Linked DNA regions of Homo sapiens: regions 2 and 3 are each linked to region 1. The links are contacts of gene promoters, found by promoter capture Hi-C in blood cells and fetal thymus (Javierre and others, 2016). All regions are on one chromosome and are shown on one strand. The core of a region is centred on a gene start or on the middle of the fragment in contact, and the rest is flanking DNA. Distances in the headings are between cores, read along the strand shown.

Region 1 (2,700 bases), core at 192-2,691:
ATACCAAGAATTCTTGGACTGACATGAGGAGTTGACCTTAATTTCCTAGCCTACGTTTGTGTTTTATGTTTAGGGTGTGTTCTGTATTTGGATGTGGAGTTATTTTAGATTTCAACACGGTCTTGAAGAAAGTCTTCCTTCAGACTATTTATAAGGCAGAGATTAAGTCCTGGAAATTATTTAAGTATCTTATTTCTGCTTTTAGGTTAAATGTAACTTCCTACCTCAGCTCTATTTCTCTTCCTGAAATTAGCTTTTCGTCATTAGGGGAAAGGAGTCCACGTTGGTTGGGGAGCCTGCGCGCCAGCATCCCGGCGCATCCCGGGCGCCGGCCGAGGAGGACCGGCCGAACAGGACCCACGGCCCCCGGGGAGCGCCGGCGCCCAGCCCGCGGCGCGGAGGGGCCGAGCCTGCGCCCGCCTCCCCCGCTGGTTGGTCGAGGAAGCCAGAAATCAGCGCGAGGACAGCCTCGCTCTCCTCCCCGAAGCGGCCAGGCATGGCCAGCCCGGAGAGTGCGGCGACTCCACCGTGAGCTCTCGAGAGTGCCTGCCTGCCTTTCGCCGGGGGCAGGCGGGCGGCGGGGCAAGAGGAGGCGCCGTGCGCCGGGGTCGCTGGCCCAATTCTCGACTCGGGGTAAGATGGCTCCGCTCCGAACTCGCCGGCGCGACCACACGCACAGCCTCTCCCTTCCCAGCCTCCGTGCTCGGGCCCGGAGGGTCGCGGAGGCTGTTGGCGGCGCGGAGCCAGCCCGGCGCGACCTCAGGCGGCGCAGCGGGAGCGAGTGCGGGTCTCCGAGCTGCCCGCCCGCAGACAAAGCTGACAACATGGCTACCTCCGCTCCTCCGCTCAAACAAGTTCCTCGCAAGTTGAGCCCGGCAGGCGCCTGGGCTGCGGCGGAAAGCCGCGCGCGCCTCGGCGGCCGTCGTCCATCAACTTCAAGTTTCCCTCCGCAGAGCAGCCCGCGGCCGCCAGGCGCCGAACACAGCCGCCCAGCGCGAGGCCCGGCCCGGGAAACTTTCAACGTCTGCAGCCCGCAACTGACAGCCCGGGCGCACGGGCGCCGCACTCACCTTCAGACAGGTCCTCGATGCACTCGAAGGTGATCTCGAACTGGAACGGGTTGTAGAAAGGAGAAGGGTTATCCAGCACCACTACATTGTTCACCTGAACCTTTGCCATATTTTGAAAAAAACACAAACAATGGGAACTGGGGCTGGTTGCGGCACAATAAAGTCCAGCGCGCGGCCGCTCGGGAGAGCGCAGACCCCCGCTCCAGCGCCGGCCAGACGTCGTGCAGCGGCGACTTGAGAAACTTTTTTCCTCTTTTTATTTACACGGGAGCACTCCACAGTGTTTTGCAGCTTTCCTATTTCACTAAACTACAGCCCATTCTGCTCTGATAAGTAGCAGCGTTGCCCTCGATTGGCTGCACCCGAGTTCTGACCCTCCTCCTCCAGCGAGGGCCTCGGCAGCCAGCAAGATGGGCTCCCGCTCCCGGAATGGACTCGGAAACTTTAACTGCGGCTCCACCTGCTGGTGTGGATTAGGACAAAGGCGGAGAACAAAGTGAGTGGAATAAGGGCTGGGAGGCCCGCGCGGAGGCCGCCGGCGGCGGCGCGGAGAGGGGCGGAGGGGGCGTGGCCGCGGCGGGGAGGCGTGGCTGCGGCGGGAGGGCGCGATCCGGCCGACGCCCGCCCCTCCAGTTGGCTTCGTGTGGGTGTTTTGGCGTTTTTTTGTTTTTTTTTTTGTTTTTTTGGTTTTTTGATTTAACGCTCTTTTTACATCAGTGCAACAGCTTTGCCGGCCTTGCTGAATTTAGCAGATGAGAGTCGGTGTTTACACTGGGTTAGGTTCAGCTTTCTGCGTATCGGGTAGTATTTGGAGTAGAGAGAAAGATTGGCTGCAGGGGAAATAAATTGCATGTTATAGACCGATGTCAGCTCGAAAGGAGCAAAGCCATTTTGGAAATCTAGCTCTTGGCCAGTATCTACGTTTAGGCACGACAGCGCCGTTAAGCAACACAAAATGAAGGGCGAGGAATGATTTTCTACACACTGTGCTTGGAAAATTTAAATAGGTAACCTTTGGGCTTGCACCTGGGCGTCTTCTTCGGAGTCCAGATCTGGGAAGTCCTAGAATAAAAAAAAATCACAAGAGGTGTGATCAGTTATACTTCAGGTTACTGCCATTTGGAGAGCATAGCAGGAACATAAAAGGAGAAAATGGAAGTGTTAGGAGACCAACAGGGCAACAAACGTAATAGAGATGGGAAAAAGAACACAAAGACATAGCAAGACATTTGATCTTCAAAAAAATTTCTGACCTAAACCGTTAGTAAAGCAAATTCTGAGGAGCCCTTGCTTGCCTGTAACCAGTTGAGGTCTGAACTGAGGAAATGTTGATTCGTTTATGCTGCTTGGCTACCATTGCGGGGAAAGAGAAAGCTTTAACATATTTGTGAGCCTAAACCGTTTCTATTTAGTAAGTGGTATAAAGGTTTGTTTTATTATCTGCTAGCCATAAACCATCATTTTTTTCCTTAAATGTTGTGAATGAAACCACCAAACTTGGCCAAATTCAGAGAGAAAATTAATTCTTAAGTATGTGTTCTGGAAGAGTTTTCTCTTAGTATAGTGCCCAGAATTTTGATTTGTCATTCTTTGGTCATTGTTCATACTTAAGTAGGTGGCTTTTGATGAA
Region 2 (2,700 bases), core at 42-2,541, 1.3 Mb after region 1:
CCATAGGAAAAATTGAAGGAATTGTCAAAGTGCTCTCCCCACAAATTACCAAAATACATGATTTCACAGGGCAATGCTACTAAACGTTCAAACAACAGCTAATTCTAATGCCTAGCAAGAGAACCAAAAAAGGGAAGAAAAATTCTAAATTGTTTCTGTCAAGCTAATAATATCTGATCAAGATTGCCACAAAGAAAGAAAAGCCCTGATTCACAAAAGATTTTTTTTTTTTTTTTGCAACTGAGTCTCGCTCTGTTGCCAGGCTGGAGTGCAGTGACTCGATCTCGGCTCACTGCAACCTCCGCCTCCCAGGTTCAAGCGATTCTCCTGCCTCAGCCTGCCGAGTAGCTGGGACTACAGGCACAAGCCACCACTCCCGGCCAATTTTTATATTTTTAGTAGAGACAGGGTTTCACCATGTTGGCCAGGACAGTCTCGATCTCTTGACCTCATGATCCGCCCGCCTCAGCCTCCCAAAGTGCTGGGATTACAGGCATGAGCCACTGCACCTGGCCCACAAATGAATATTAATGTAAAAATCCTAAGTAAAATCCTATCCATGCAAATTTAATACAGTAATGGATTCATATCTATAACCAGATGTTTAACATTGGGACATCTAATTATGTAATTAATCATCTGACTGGCTCTAGGGAGGAGTCCTATGGAGGAAAATCATATTTTCCATAGATGCTGAAAAGACTTTGCTCAAAATTAAGCACATTCCTTGTGAGGGGGAAAAAAAGGAATAAATAGATGCTTTCTTAACATAATAAAGTTTACCTCAACATAATAAATCTATCTCTGCCTAAAAGCCAGCATCATGCTAAGGTGGGAGCTACTAGAAGTATTTAATATGGTACTGGAAGTATTGCCAATAGAATTAAATGTACACATAAATATTGGAAAGGAGATAGCACTAGCACTATTTGCAAACGTGATCAAATTCCAGAAAAACCTAAGAGAATCAACTAAAAGCTACTAGGAATAATAAGGACATTTAGTAAAGGAGCAGCATACAAATTAGTCACAGAAATCGAACAGGAAGGCTGCATATAATAGCTAACACCACGTGGCACTTATCATGGGTCAGACACTGTTGTAAGGGTTTTATGTACATTAATCCTTGTAATCTTCACCACAACCCTATAAGGTATATACCATTATTATCTCCATTTAGAAATAAGGAAATGGAGTCATAGAAAGTAAGTCCTTCTTGGTCACAACTAAGGCAGAATTTGAGCCCAGGGAGTCTAAGCCCCAGAATCCATGCTTTTTACCACTAGGCCATACTAGTTCTTGATACATAAAAGAGGAGGTGGGGACAATTTACAATGGCAGCAACAACAAAAAAAACACCTAAGTACAAATTAAACAAAAAATGTGCAGTACTTATGTGAGCACCCTTTAAAATCCCCTGAAAGGATGCAAAAGGGGCTTGAACAAATGGAAAGGGATACTACGTTTTGTGTACCTATATAACTGACTAAAAACTACATTAGAAAAAGAATGAATGGAAATAAGGCAGACAAAAATTCCAAGAAGAGATCACTGTTCGAAGAAAGACAATAGGTAATTAGAAGGGCTTAGTATATTAAGGGAGAATTCTTTATACTTGGGAGAGATTTGAGGAAGTTTAAAGGCTGAGGGGGAGACCTCCAATGAAAGGAAGAAGAAGATAAAGGAAAAAGGGATAATAGGAGCAAAGAGATAAGGGGAAGGCAGTGGGATTTAAGATCACAGATGAAGGTTTCTAACACTTTTTCCATTGACACAGGAAGGAAGGAGGAAAGGAATGAAGTGGATACAGGTTTTGTGAGAAGAGGAATCAGCAGGAAGTTAGTTCTGATTTTAACGACTTTTATTTTTAGGTGAAGGAAGTGGCAAGATCAGAGTAAGGGAGAGTGTGAAAAGTGGCACTGCTTTGGAATAATTGCTAAGGGGTACGGAAAAAGGGATCAAAGATAAATAAAAGCGTTGAGGAGTGATGGGCCCCCAGTAAACTGGAAACCGAGCTTTTGTAACAGCCACAGTGTGAATAGTTCTGCAATGTTCCCCTGCTGCTGTGATGAAGATGGAGAGATGGTATTCTCAAGGGGAATTATGTTGTTGGGGTCTCATGGTTCGGGGCTCCTGGAAAGAAAATGGAGTGAAAATGCTGAGACAAACCAGTTCGATGATGGATAGGGAAGGAAATGCAACCCAAAAGGATTAACAACTAGAGGAAAATGATGGGATCTAGGGGTTTGGTATCTAAATGAGATCAGTGACTAAGTAGGTGGAAAGCTGAAGAACTCAGGGGGTTTTGAGCTGATAGAGAATTGCTGGAGATTAGGTTTACAGTGCTGGGGTTCTTGCTGATGACAAGAATGTGGACATGTGTGGGAGTGGTTTAAATGGAAAGCAGGTTACTAGAGTGGAAGTCAAGAAACCATAAAAATGACCATGTTGGGCACTTCATTCTCTAGCATGATTACAAAGGAGGAATGAAGAAGACCTAGAATTAGGTGAATGTCCTCAATGAATGGAAAAAAGTGGCCTGGAAGATATTAGGTGTCACAGCAAAAAGAAAAAGGTGGTAGAGCTAGGTGAGAAAAAAAGGGAGAGCTTTGAATGGTGGTGAAAAAGTAAAAAAGGATGTGGAAGTAGTCTGTTGGGAGGAGGGTGTGTGCCACAGTTAAGTGCATTTGTTGGGAGGAC
Region 3 (2,700 bases), core at 165-2,664, 1.4 Mb after region 1:
GCTGGAAACACAAAAGCAGCACTTGCTGTCTCATAGAACTCAGAGTAAAATGGCAAATAGTCACACATTCAAATAACTATAATTCTAGGTGCTATGTGTTATATATACATCAGGGGTCTAAACAAAATGCAAAGGAGAGAGGCAAGAAAGAATGTTGCAGCGAATTACCAGCATTTCATCAAAACAAGAAATTATCTGAAGACTTTTCTGAATAGGGAAGTTCACCTATTAACCTACAAGTTGCTCTAGTTGATTGAAGTGACTTAGTCAATCACACAACTATCCAAGGACATGCACAACTGGGTGGGCTGCAAGGAGAATGAGCATACACTGCATTCAGATTGCAAAATGTCTGTGGTTAGCACAGCTTCACATAAATGAAGCAAAAATTTCTGGTCTCAGCTGGAGGGAGAGAAGCAGAAAGCTGTTGAAGAAGGAACTCTCAAAGGTAGTAAAAGAAGGCCTCTCCATCCCAAAGTCTCTGATGGAGAAGCCTCACCTTGGGTATACTGTGAATCTGAGGACCTCAAAGCAGCCCTCTTCCCTCCCAGCCTCTTCCCCAGTTAGAGGTGGATTCAGGAGTCTTCCTTTATTCCACTTCCTTCTTGCCTTGAGGTGTTGGGGCCAAATGGTAATAGAGGTTTATTAAAAAATAAAAAGAAAAAAGAAAAAGATTTGAAAACTCCAGAATCTACATCATCTCAACAGCCAAGGCCTAGGGAAAGGATCTACCCATTATCCAGAAACTCCCACGAGATTCCTGGCAGCCCCTGACAGAGGGCTGAATTGGGGAAATAGAGTTGGCTTTAATGGACCAATGGGTTAAGAAGTGCCGGGGGGAACTTTAGACAGCCAAGATAAAACTACTATGAAGCCCTGAGATCTAGGCAGAATTAGTGAAATTTACATGGTAGGCAACAAAGACACATAGAATTTTTTGAGTAGGAAGATAACGAAACAGGTATTAGAAAAAGATGATCAACCTGGCTGGACAACGCTACAGGAACTAGAATGGGGACAGAATCTGGATCAGAGGAGCAGTAGGCAGGCTAGCAATGGGGGTAGCTGGAACAGGAAGGAAGGGAACAGAAAACAGGCAAATTCTTGAGACAAAATCAACAGACTCAGGTTTGGGGGAACTATGGTGAGAAGAACAAAGGAGAAAAAACACCAAGGCCTTGTTCAGTCCAGAAATGATTGCAACACAGAGGCCAATATAGACAGCAAAAAGAGTCCAGAGAGGGAGCAGGTTTGGGCCCAAAGGTTGTAAGTTTGGTTAAGTTTGAGGTGACGGCTAAATTCCTTGGGCTCCCTGGCAGTTGGTAAACACAAAATTGCCAAGAATTAAATGAAAATGATACAAGAGAGAAGCATAGTGTGCAGGAGCACACAGTGCACGGGGCTTTGATTTGAAATCTGAATTATTTGTCGGCTTTAAAGGGCTTTAATAAAATATCCAATTTATAGTTTCTCTTTAAAACTGAAGGACAAACTGGGAGTGGTGGCTCATGCCTGTAATTCCAGCATTTTGGGAGGCCAAGGCAGCGGATCACCTGAAGTCAGGAGTTCGAGACCAGCCTGACCAACATGGTGAAACCCTGTGTCTACTAAAAATACAAAAATTAGCTGGGCATGGTAGCGCGAGCCTGTAATCTCAGCTACTCGGGAAGCTGAGGCAGGAGAATCGCTTGAACCCAGGAGGCAGAGGTTGCAGTGAGCTGAGATCATGCCACTGAACTCCAGCCTGGGCAAGAGTGAGATTCCGTCTCAACAACAACAACAACAACAATGACAACTGAAAGACGTGACAACCACATGATCAGGCATTCTCACAGGGCTAGTGACACAGTGGCTGTCCCTTGAAAGGAGCCAAACACCCTAGTTCTTCACCAGGTCCTTGTTACTCATTTCTGTTACCTGCCCTACCTTTGTAAGCATTTATTTTGAGCACCCTCATAAAGCAATCCTAGGGTAATTAGTACAAACAAATATGCATCTCAATATAAACACAACACAACCTCTCCAAGCCACCAAAAAATCTCCTGATCAAATATTTAAATGTCACTTTTCTTAGGACTATGAAATTCTCCTTTCATAAAAGAGGAAGAGAAAAACTTTTTTTTTTTCAGAAAACAGTTAAATATGAAATAAGGAGCAATTATATGAGTCAACCTACATGTGACTATCATATTCTAAATTTTATTTTTTTAAAGTGACATGTGTCAGCAAAAGAAAATCTTAGGGTGTCACTGTTTTTTTTGAGACGAAGTCTCACTCTGTCGCCCAGGCTGGAGTGCAGTGGCAGGATCTTGGCTTACTGCAGCCTCTGCCTCCTGGGTTCAAGCGATTCTCCTGCCTCAGCCTCCCGAGTAGGTGGGACGACAGGTGCATTTACGTACGGCTAATTTTTTTGTATTTTTAGTAGAGACGGGGTTTCACCGTGTTAGCCAGGATGGTCTCGATCTCCTGACCTCATGATCCACCCACCTCGGCCTCCCAAAGTGCTGGGATTACAGGCGTGAGCCACCGCACCCGGCCAGGGTATCACTTTTATTCAGCCCTGTAATTGTATTTCTTTCCGACCACTTCCACTGTAAGGCCTAAGAGGAAACTTCTTTCACCCAGCAATGCTGGCACAATGCAGGCAAGTTCAAATCGTCAACATTCCCATCGTTACTTTGCCTGGGGATCTCTACCTCC

What was found. The method cuts DNA at HindIII sites, captures the fragments that hold promoters and counts their contacts. A CHiCAGO score of 5 or more calls a contact.
Region 2: a fragment that was not itself captured here is called in contact with the fragment with the promoter of ASF1A in region 1 in 1 of 17 cell types (total CD4 T cells); the score reaches 5.7 in total CD4 T cells.
Region 3: a contact is called between a fragment that was not itself captured here and the fragment with the promoter of ASF1A in region 1, in 1 of 17 cell types (M0 macrophages). The highest score is 8.1, in M0 macrophages.

What each region holds. Positions count from the first base shown.
Region 1 is chr6:118,892,893-118,895,592 of GRCh38, reverse strand. It overlaps ASF1A (anti-silencing function 1A histone chaperone), which reads right to left and starts at 1,441. Exons shown (of 4, transcript NM_014034.3): 1 at 1,071-1,441. The coding sequence starts at 1,179. All of the region lies in intron 8 of MCM9 (minichromosome maintenance 9 homologous recombination repair factor), which reads left to right. RefSeq lists silencers at 247-776, 1,567-1,706 and an enhancer at 1,157-1,246. The HindIII fragment of the contact is 9,487 bases long and covers 1-2,446 here.
Region 2 is chr6:117,552,428-117,555,127 of GRCh38, reverse strand. It overlaps a transcript of DCBLD1 not described here. Among named protein-coding and RNA genes, the nearest start is that of GOPC, 49 kb to the left of the region's middle. The HindIII fragment of the contact is 6,555 bases long and covers 1-2,700 here.
Region 3 is chr6:117,500,423-117,503,122 of GRCh38, reverse strand. The region is part of intron 1 of DCBLD1 (discoidin, CUB and LCCL domain containing 1); the gene reads right to left. Among named protein-coding and RNA genes, the nearest start is that of DCBLD1, 19 kb to the right of the region's middle. The HindIII fragment of the contact is 8,436 bases long and covers 1-2,700 here.